Regions from separate parts of the Homo sapiens genome. Here regions 1 and 3 are each linked to region 2. Evidence: promoter capture Hi-C in 16 types of primary human blood cells and fetal thymus (Javierre and others, 2016). All regions are on one chromosome and are shown on one strand. Each heading gives the region's core, a stretch centred on a gene start or on the middle of the fragment in contact. The rest is flanking DNA. Distances are from core to core; before and after follow the strand shown.

Evidence for each region. Contacts are between HindIII fragments. The CHiCAGO score rates a contact against its expected background, and 5 or more counts as called.
Region 1: a contact is called between the fragment with the promoter of SOX4 here and the fragment with the promoter of TDP2 in region 2, in 1 of 17 cell types (fetal thymus). The highest score is 5.5, in fetal thymus.
Region 3: a contact is called between a fragment that was not itself captured here and the fragment with the promoter of TDP2 in region 2, in 1 of 17 cell types (M0 macrophages). The highest score is 5.9, in M0 macrophages.

What each region holds. Positions count from the first base shown.
Region 1 is chr6:21,592,380-21,595,079 of GRCh38, reverse strand. It overlaps SOX4 (SRY-box transcription factor 4), which reads right to left and starts at 1,329. Exons shown (of 1, transcript NM_003107.3): 1 at 1-1,329. The coding sequence starts at 545. RefSeq lists a silencer at 539-718. The HindIII fragment of the contact is 853 bases long and covers 903-1,755 here.
Region 2 is chr6:24,665,572-24,668,271 of GRCh38, reverse strand. TDP2 (tyrosyl-DNA phosphodiesterase 2) reads left to right here and starts at 1,373. Exons shown (of 7, transcript NM_016614.3): 1 at 1,373-1,574; 2 at 1,661-1,746. The coding sequence starts at 1,410. ACOT13 (acyl-CoA thioesterase 13) reads right to left here and starts at 1,195. Exons shown (of 3, transcript NM_018473.4): 1 at 928-1,195. The coding sequence starts at 1,008. RefSeq lists enhancers at 1,157-1,451, 983-1,654, 1,655-2,327. The HindIII fragment of the contact is 8,130 bases long and covers 1-2,465 here.
Region 3 is chr6:20,202,966-20,205,665 of GRCh38, reverse strand. All of the region lies in intron 1 of MBOAT1 (membrane bound glycerophospholipid O-acyltransferase 1), which reads left to right. Among named protein-coding and RNA genes, the nearest start is that of MBOAT1, 8.2 kb to the left of the region's middle. The HindIII fragment of the contact is 4,589 bases long and covers 1-2,700 here.

The DNA.
Region 1 (2,700 bases), core at 80-2,579, 3.1 Mb after region 2:
CCGCCTCCTCCCCCCGCGTTGCTGCTCCCGCCGCCGCCGCCGCCCCCATGGCCGCCCCCGCCACTGCCACCGACCTTGTCTCCCTTCTCCCCCGGCTTGGAGGAGGCGGCGGCCGAGGAGCTGGAGTTGGCGTTGCCGGACTTCACCTTCTTCCTGGGCCGGTACTTGTAGTCGGGGTAGTCAGCCATGTGCTTGAGGCGCAGCCGCTCCGCCTCTCGAATGAAAGGGATCTTGTCGCTGTCTTTGAGCAGCTTCCAGCGTTTGCCCAGCCGCTTGGAGATCTCGGCGTTGTGCATGTCGGGCGACTGCTCCATGATCTTGCGCCGCTCGATCTGCGACCACACCATGAAGGCGTTCATGGGTCGCTTGATGTGCCCACTCGGGGTCTTGCACCAGCTCGGGTCGTCGGCCTTGCCGCCCGTGGAGGCGGTGGAGCCGGGCGTGGGGGAGGAGGCGATTCCCAGCTCGAGGCCGGCGCCCGAGTCCGAGCTCTCGCCGGCCAGCAGCGCTTCCGTGTTCTCGGCATTGTTGGTTTGCTGCACCATGGCCTCGGCTCGGCGGGCGCCCACGCGCGCTCACACCCTCGCGGCGGCCGCCGCGCGATCGCCGGGCCCTCCCGGTTCCCCGGGCCAAGCACACGCCGAACGGGAAGACGCGCGCGGCGGCCGAACTGGCCCCTCAACTCCTCGCAGGGGCGGAGGTGGGTAAAGAGAGAAAAGTCCCCAAAAGATTTGGGGAAGGAGTTCTCCGCCTCTCGCAGAGGAGTTATAGTTCCCAGGCTGGAGAGTCTCTCTCTCCCTCTCTCTCGCTCTCTCACCGCGCTGCAGTTTGCTGTCTCTCGGCTGAGTCTGGAGACCGTGCTAAAGTAGAGAGGAGTTTCTCGAATGCTGGTTGCTGAAGCTTCCAATGCAAGTTTCTCGCGGCCTCCCAGGCAAGTCTTTTTTTTTTTTTTTTCTTTTTCCCTGAAGCAGTTGATTCCAGTTCACGAGCGCTCTCGGTAGCTCAGGAAAGCGACATAGTCTCTAGCACTTAGTCCCTCTCCTACAATGCAAAGCAAAAAAGACTGTGGCTCCAGGACTCTCTGTGGGCGGAATCGGCACTAAGGAGTTGGTGCAATTATTTTGTTGCAAGGTAGGAAGCCAAAAAGCCTGCATGCAACAGACTGGCATGAATAAATGTATGTTTCCCCCTCCCTTCTGCAAGAAGGGAGCTGGTAATGGCAGGAGTTCCTCCAGTGCAGACTCTTAAAGAGCGTGCAAGAACTAGAGACCCGACAGCGAAACAGGCCTCTTCCCCTCACACACAGTTTCTCTTGCTGCAGCTTAGAGCAGACCCCAATTCCGCCTCGCGCCTCTTTATCCTTTCACAGTCTTGGCTGCAGCCAATCAGCTGCTGTAACCAACGCTTCCTCATGCCAAACCCCTCCCCCGGGCTTCCCATTGGCTTGGAACCCGATGCAATAATAATCTCCGCGTGCAATGAGAAGCTCCAAATCTGACCTCATTCCAATTTACAGAGCAAACTTTTTAAAAGGGCTAGAAGTACAGCTGAGATTTCTGCTGCCTCTTTTTTCCTTTTGCTGTGTGTGTGCGCGCGCGTGTGTGTGCGCGCGTGCGTGTGTGTATAGTGTGTGAAGAGGATGTTAATGCATGAAATTATTAAGGGGAGAGACGGAAATGTATTCTAACCATTATGTTAGATAACAAGGGGCTTGGAACGGGGCGGGGTAAGGGTGAAATACTGTAAATGGAAGCTTTCTGCTTAAAAGCCAAGTGATTATTTTTATTAGTTCTTTTCAGCATTGGAATAAAGAATCAGCCTCTGGTGCAAAATCTGTTCCCCAGCTCTTTCTTAAAGCCAAAGCTGTAAAGGGGAAGAGAAAGCCACAAAACAATAAATCAATGGATATTGAAAACCATTAAGAAAGTGGTACCTAGACACCTGTCATCACAATTATTTTAACAACTCTAGGTACAGCACAGATGTTGATGTATTGTGTAAATCCCTTCAGAACCGTTTTTGTGCTGTTTGTGGAAGGCAGGGAAGAGGACTTTGCAATAATTGCTTACTCTCTTAACCAAGCAAGGGTCAACTATGGTTATTTAATGATTTAAACTCCCTGTAAATCCTGCATAGCCCAAACAGGGGAGCTTTCCCTTGAAACACATTAGGTAGTGCTCCGTAATTACCTCAATAGGCAGATTTCCAGAGTTTTGTATAGGATGTATAATGGCATGTAAAGGATGGAAATCGGTTTTACTTTCTAAATATTTGTTTTCCCTGTTTTCAAAATTAAAGATTGCTTCACTCTCTTCCCTCTCCTCCTCCCAAAGCCATCTTCCTCCTTTCCTTCTTATATATTTCCTCTTGTTACTTGAATCGAAGGGAACTGAAAAACCAAGGCAAAGAGAAACTGTAGAAGGAGGTGATAACTGGTAGCAGAAGAGAATGGGGCCTCCGGATTCATAGTAGACCTGGCTGCTAATCCTTCTTAATGGTTTGTAACTATGGGGATGTGGCCAAGTCTCAGTTTTCCTCATCTATTATATGGGAACACTAGGAGCTACTTTATAGAGGGTTGTTGTGAGGGTTCAATGAATTTGTGACTATGAAGCACCTGATGTATTGTAAGCCCTCAATGAATACTAATATCTTCCTTTCTAATTCAAATGCCAGACACACTCCTAGTAAAAGCTGCAT
Region 2 (2,700 bases), core at 124-2,623:
ACTCCCGCATGGGCAACAGAGCAAGACTCCATCTCAAAACAACAACAACAACAAACACCTTCAAGGTCTGGCGTGGCGGCTCACACCAGTAATCCCAGCACTTTGGGAGGCGGAGGCAGGCGTTTCACCTGAGGTCGGGAGTTCGAGAGCAGCCTGACCAACATGGAGAAACCCTGTCTCTACTAAAAGTACAATATTAGCTGGGCATGGTGGCGCATGCCTGTAATCCCAGCCACTCGGGAGGCTGAGTGAGGCAGGAGAATTGTTTGAACCAGGGAGGTGGAGGTTGCAGTGAGCCGAGATCGCGCCATTGCACTCCAGCCTAGGCAACAAGGGCGAAACCTCATCCTAAAAAAACAAAAACAAACAAACACCTTCGGGCTTTGTGAGTGCTGGTCTCAGAAAAGCACTCAGTCTTCCTCCAAGGGCTAACTTACTTCTTCAGGAGTTGGGTGCCTTTGAGAAATTTCCCAAACCACTACAGAGGAACAACTTCTCCCTTCGTTCACCACTCTACCAAGCACTTGGCTTTTGTACCTTATTGCAATTATTTATCTTCTAATCTTCTAGAGCCTAGAGAATTAGACTGTAATGTGCCTTAAATGCAGAGGTTTCTCTTACTCTTCTCTGGAGCAATGCAGACGTTTGTTGGTTGAAGGATCAAACTCCAAAGTCCCTCCCAGCCTTGGAACTGTCTCCACGAGTCATAACCATACTTATCTATGTTTAGATAGAGAACTTACGCGTTCGACCCAGCATATTTAGGGGCTCCATTAAAGTAATAATCATTATTACTAAGGTGAATTTACAGGCGTACTAGAACACAACCTAACAAGAGATAATTATTCAAAGCTCACAACGGCACCAAGCACGGTGCTTTCTTTTCCTTCATTAGAAGCCACGGCTTCTCCCCTACCTTTCCCATACCTTTCCCAAAACTCTCTCAAAATTGCGAGCCTTGGTCATGGCCTTTATCACCTCCCGCAGAGACTGAGTCATGCTGGTCATCGTGGACGGTTTTCCAGCCTTTGGGCTTTGCGCAAGAACGAACTTCGGAAGAGCTGGAAAGTCCAGAAGTTAGTGAAAGAAGGAGGACACAAAGGGCGAAGAGCCCGCACCCTTCTCCGCCCCTAGGAGCGCAAGAGGCCGGGAGTCAGGCGAGCTGGCAGCCCCGGTGGTCCGCGATTTGCTCACTGACTTTCCTCGCACCCTTGTGACGAAGCGCGCATGCGCGCTTCGCACCCACCGCCCCGGCGGCTCCCTTGCGGCGCAGCTGCACCAGTTTTCCGAGAGCAGCGCATTTCCCCGCCGGGCGGTTGATGCGGGAGCGCCATGACACAGGCGCCTGCGCAGAGCCGCGCGTTGGCCTCCTGTTCCGCTTAAAGGGGCGGTGCAGAGGCGGCAGGAAGATGGAGTTGGGGAGTTGCCTGGAGGGCGGGAGGGAGGCGGCGGAGGAAGAGGGCGAGCCTGAGGTGAAAAAGCGGCGACTTCTGTGTGTGGAGTTTGCCTCGGTCGCAAGCTGCGATGCCGCAGTGGCTCAGTGCTTCCTGGCCGAGAACGACTGGGAGATGGAAGTACGCTTTCGCTGTCCTCGCTTCCGGCTCCATTACCTAGGTCGGTGGAGCGCACAAACCTCATCCCTTGTGCCTTTGTTTTTCAGAGGGCTCTGAACTCCTACTTCGAGCCTCCGGTGGAGGAGAGCGCCTTGGAACGCCGACCTGAAACCATCTCTGAGCCCAAGACCTAGTAAGTGATGAGGGGAGCGGGAGCCAGTCCGCACGGAGGCAGTTTGATACCAGGTAGCCCTGCGCGTCCTGGGACCTGCCGTGGAGCTGGGCGGACGATGCTGAGGCAGATCTCCAAGCTGCGTAGCCAGAGGAGCAGGGCTTGCGTTGCTGCTGCTGCGCGGAGTTGCGCCCCAGCAGCGGATCTAACACTGCACCAGACTGTCGCTTCGAACGTGATTTGGGGTCCAGGGAGGAAAAGATGGAAATGTAATGTTTAACTCAAATGAAAGGAAATAAGTAAGCGAGAGGTTTGAAACAAATGAACGAAGGCTAAACCTTCTATCGAAAAATGGCAACTTGGAAGTCTCCTTGCTTCCTGTATTGTTTATTTATTCTAGGCCCTAGGCTGACCGGCCAGAATAACAGGTTTGTTGTTGTTGTTATTTTTTTTTAATGCACACCTACTCCTGTTATTTCAGTGCCCCTCTCCAGTTCCTGCACTTAAAAAGTGTAGCTGCCTTACAAGGCCCTCTACTATTTGGCTCCATAACTTAGAACCTGCCTTTCCAGGTTCCAGGCCTATCAAACTTTTACTTTTTTCCAACGGGTCATTTTCTCCTGTCTTTGAAACTTCGTAAAGATCTTTATTACCTGTGCCTGGAATTTTTTTCTTTTCCCTTCCTTGCTAATATTTGTCTTAAAGCCCCAAGCTGAGACATGATTTATCTCTAGGAAGCTTTTCCTGATGTCCTAAGTCTGGGTAAGAGTCCCCTTTTAGGTACTCTTATAGCATCCTGCATGACCCCTGTTACAATACCTTAGTCCGTATTATAATTGCTGTTCATTATTTTATGTCTCCTACTAGACTGCACATCTAGTAAGGAGTATCTGTTTTGTACATTGTTAATTTCCCAAAGTCTGACACAACATTTGACACATAATAAGCTCCCAATAAATATTTACTGAATGTATA
Region 3 (2,700 bases), core at 201-2,700, 4.5 Mb after region 2:
AGGCCTGGTGGAGTTGGGGACTGTCCCTCAGAGCCTGTGTGAAGATGGGCGGTCTCCATGCTGGGGGATTCTGGATAAGTCCAGAAGATGGGCTGGCCTACCAGAGACTGCTGACTGGTGTCACAGTCTAGTGGCTAGATTTGACGATAATTGAAGGGAGGACAGAGAGATCACAGGTATGGCCATATATTCCCTGGCATTTGAAGCAAAGGCCTAGTGTGTCCTGGAGCTTTAGCCTTCCTGTTGTGGAACAAGAGGTGATTCTTCACAGCTTGGCCTCAGTTTACCTGTCTGGCTTAAGGACACTGACAACTCCATACATTGAATGCTTACGCTCTCAGCACTGCTCTGCATACATTCTCTCAGTTAATACAGCACTAAAAGTTATTCCCCAAATTTCTTCCTTCTTTCCCTAAATTTCTTCTTTCTTTTCTTCTTTCCTCCTTCCTTTTCTCTCTTTTCTTTCTGAGATGGGATCTCACTCTGTTGCCTAGGGTAGAGTACACTGGCTTGATCATGGCACCCTGCAGTCTCAAACTCTTGAGCTCAAGCAATCCTCCTGCCTCAGCTTCCCAAGTAGCTGGGACTAAAGGTGCATACCACCCCACCTGGCTAATTTTTTTGTATTTTTTATAGAGATGTGGTCTTGCCATGTTGCTCAGGCTGGTCTTAAACTCCTGGCCTGAAACGATCCTCTCACCTCAGCCTCCCAAAATGCGGGGATTATAGTTGTGAGCTACCACACCCAGCCTGTTCCCCAAATTTCAAGTTAGGAAGCAGCCCCCAGGGCTTATGTTACTTGCTTGTAGCTGGGAAGGGGCAGAGGCAGGACTCGAACTCAGGTCTGTCACTGGAGGCCGTGCTCCTGGTTGCTGCACTGCATTCCAGCACCATTTTCCCTGTGTGCTGTGCTTTCAGCACAGTGAACTCTTTACTTCCTATCCCTCAAACACAGTGTGTCTTTCATACCCTCCAGCCTCTGCACACACACACTTCCTTCTCCTTGGAGGTTTATTCCTCATCCTGGTCCTCAATTCCTGTTTTCAGGCTGGGCCCTAAAATCCTCTCCTCGTCTTCCCTCTGTAACCCAGCCCTCCCTCCCCACCAGGGCCAAATGGACCCCTTCTTTCTCTCTGTTTCTCCATAGCGTCCTATCCATATCACATTGCTCTGCCTTTTACTTTACTTCTTAGATATTTATTGGTCTCTCTGTCCTGCCTGACTCTGAGAGGCATCTTTCCATAGTTACTTACTGAGCGCTGTATGCTAGTGGGCTAAATGGAGATACAGAGATTAGTGAGTTATCTGTGCCTTCTGTGAGACAAACATGTAGATACTTGGTAAACTGCTGTTTGCCTGTAAGCCTTGAAATATCACGTGCCCAATGCACACACCACTGCCAGAGGACACGGGGCCTCGGCATCTCTGGGCCTCTCCTGAGACAGTGCTAGGGGAGAACTTCCTGGGAGCAGCTACTTTAGAAGCAGGAGGGAAATTAGAGGGGAGAGGGGCCAGGTGAGACAGTCAGAATATTCTAGGAGGAAGAGAAGAGAGTCTCATTCTTTATGGGTAGTGATCATTATCAAAGAAGAAAATGTTAACAAATTGAATTTAAAGATGGAATTGTCTTTTATTAGTGATTCATGAATCAGGCAGCTTCCCATCTGTAAAACAGCAAGGCTGAGCTGAGCTGAAGAGGTGGACTTTACAGGTAGAAAAGGCTGAAGAAAGCAGAAGCAAAGAATAACAAGCAAAGTTACTTTCCTTATAAGGTTAAAAAAGATGGGACTTCCTTATGCTGGCTCAGGTAGACTGGGCCCCTTTTCTGTTGGTTGCTGTGAATCTCCTATTTTTTTTTTTTTTTTAAACGGGCCCATTGTAAAGTTGTTTGTTTATATAGCTCCTGGCATCAGTGACTCCATTCTGGTTTGGTCTGGTCTGTTGGGGCCTGGTGCAGGAGCTCGGTCCAAAATAATTGCTCCTTACTAATTTTATTTACCACCACTGAAGATGAATCTTCGTCATCTTTGTATGGTTAGCACAAAGTAGGAACTAAATACATGTTTGTTGAATTGAAATGGAATTTTATTTACATTTTTGGATTGGAATGAATGACTTAATTAAGATAAAATTGGGAGCCAGTTCTTTTTACCAACTGAATTAGGCCTGTTTATTATTTGGAACCTGAATATCAGATTAAATGGGACCAATTTCTAATTTGAAAGTTAATTCATGGCTCACTTGCTGGTAGTGAAATGTTTATCTTGAGTTATTTAAAGATGACATACTCTATTCCCATTTTCATTGTGTGCAGTTGATATACTCATCACCTCCAGTTATAAATGCAGCTATTAGTATCTTTTTTTTTTTGGCCCAGTTGTTTCAGATTTCTGTGAACATGTAGAAATTTCCTTTAGCAGTCTAAAATCAAGTCATACATACGAAAGATGCCATATAGTCAAATACTCTCAAGTATTCTGTAGCTTGGCCTTGGAATTACATTTATTATTTTATTTTTATTTTTTATTGAGACAGGGTCTCACTGTGTTGCCCAGGCTGGTCTTGAACTCCTGGGCTTAAGTGATCCTCCTGCCTTGGCCTCCCAAAGTGCTGGGATTACAGGCGGAAGCCACCACACCCAGCCAGGAATTACATTTATAAAGGAAAATTTCATGAAAAGATTATATCTAAAGAGATAAA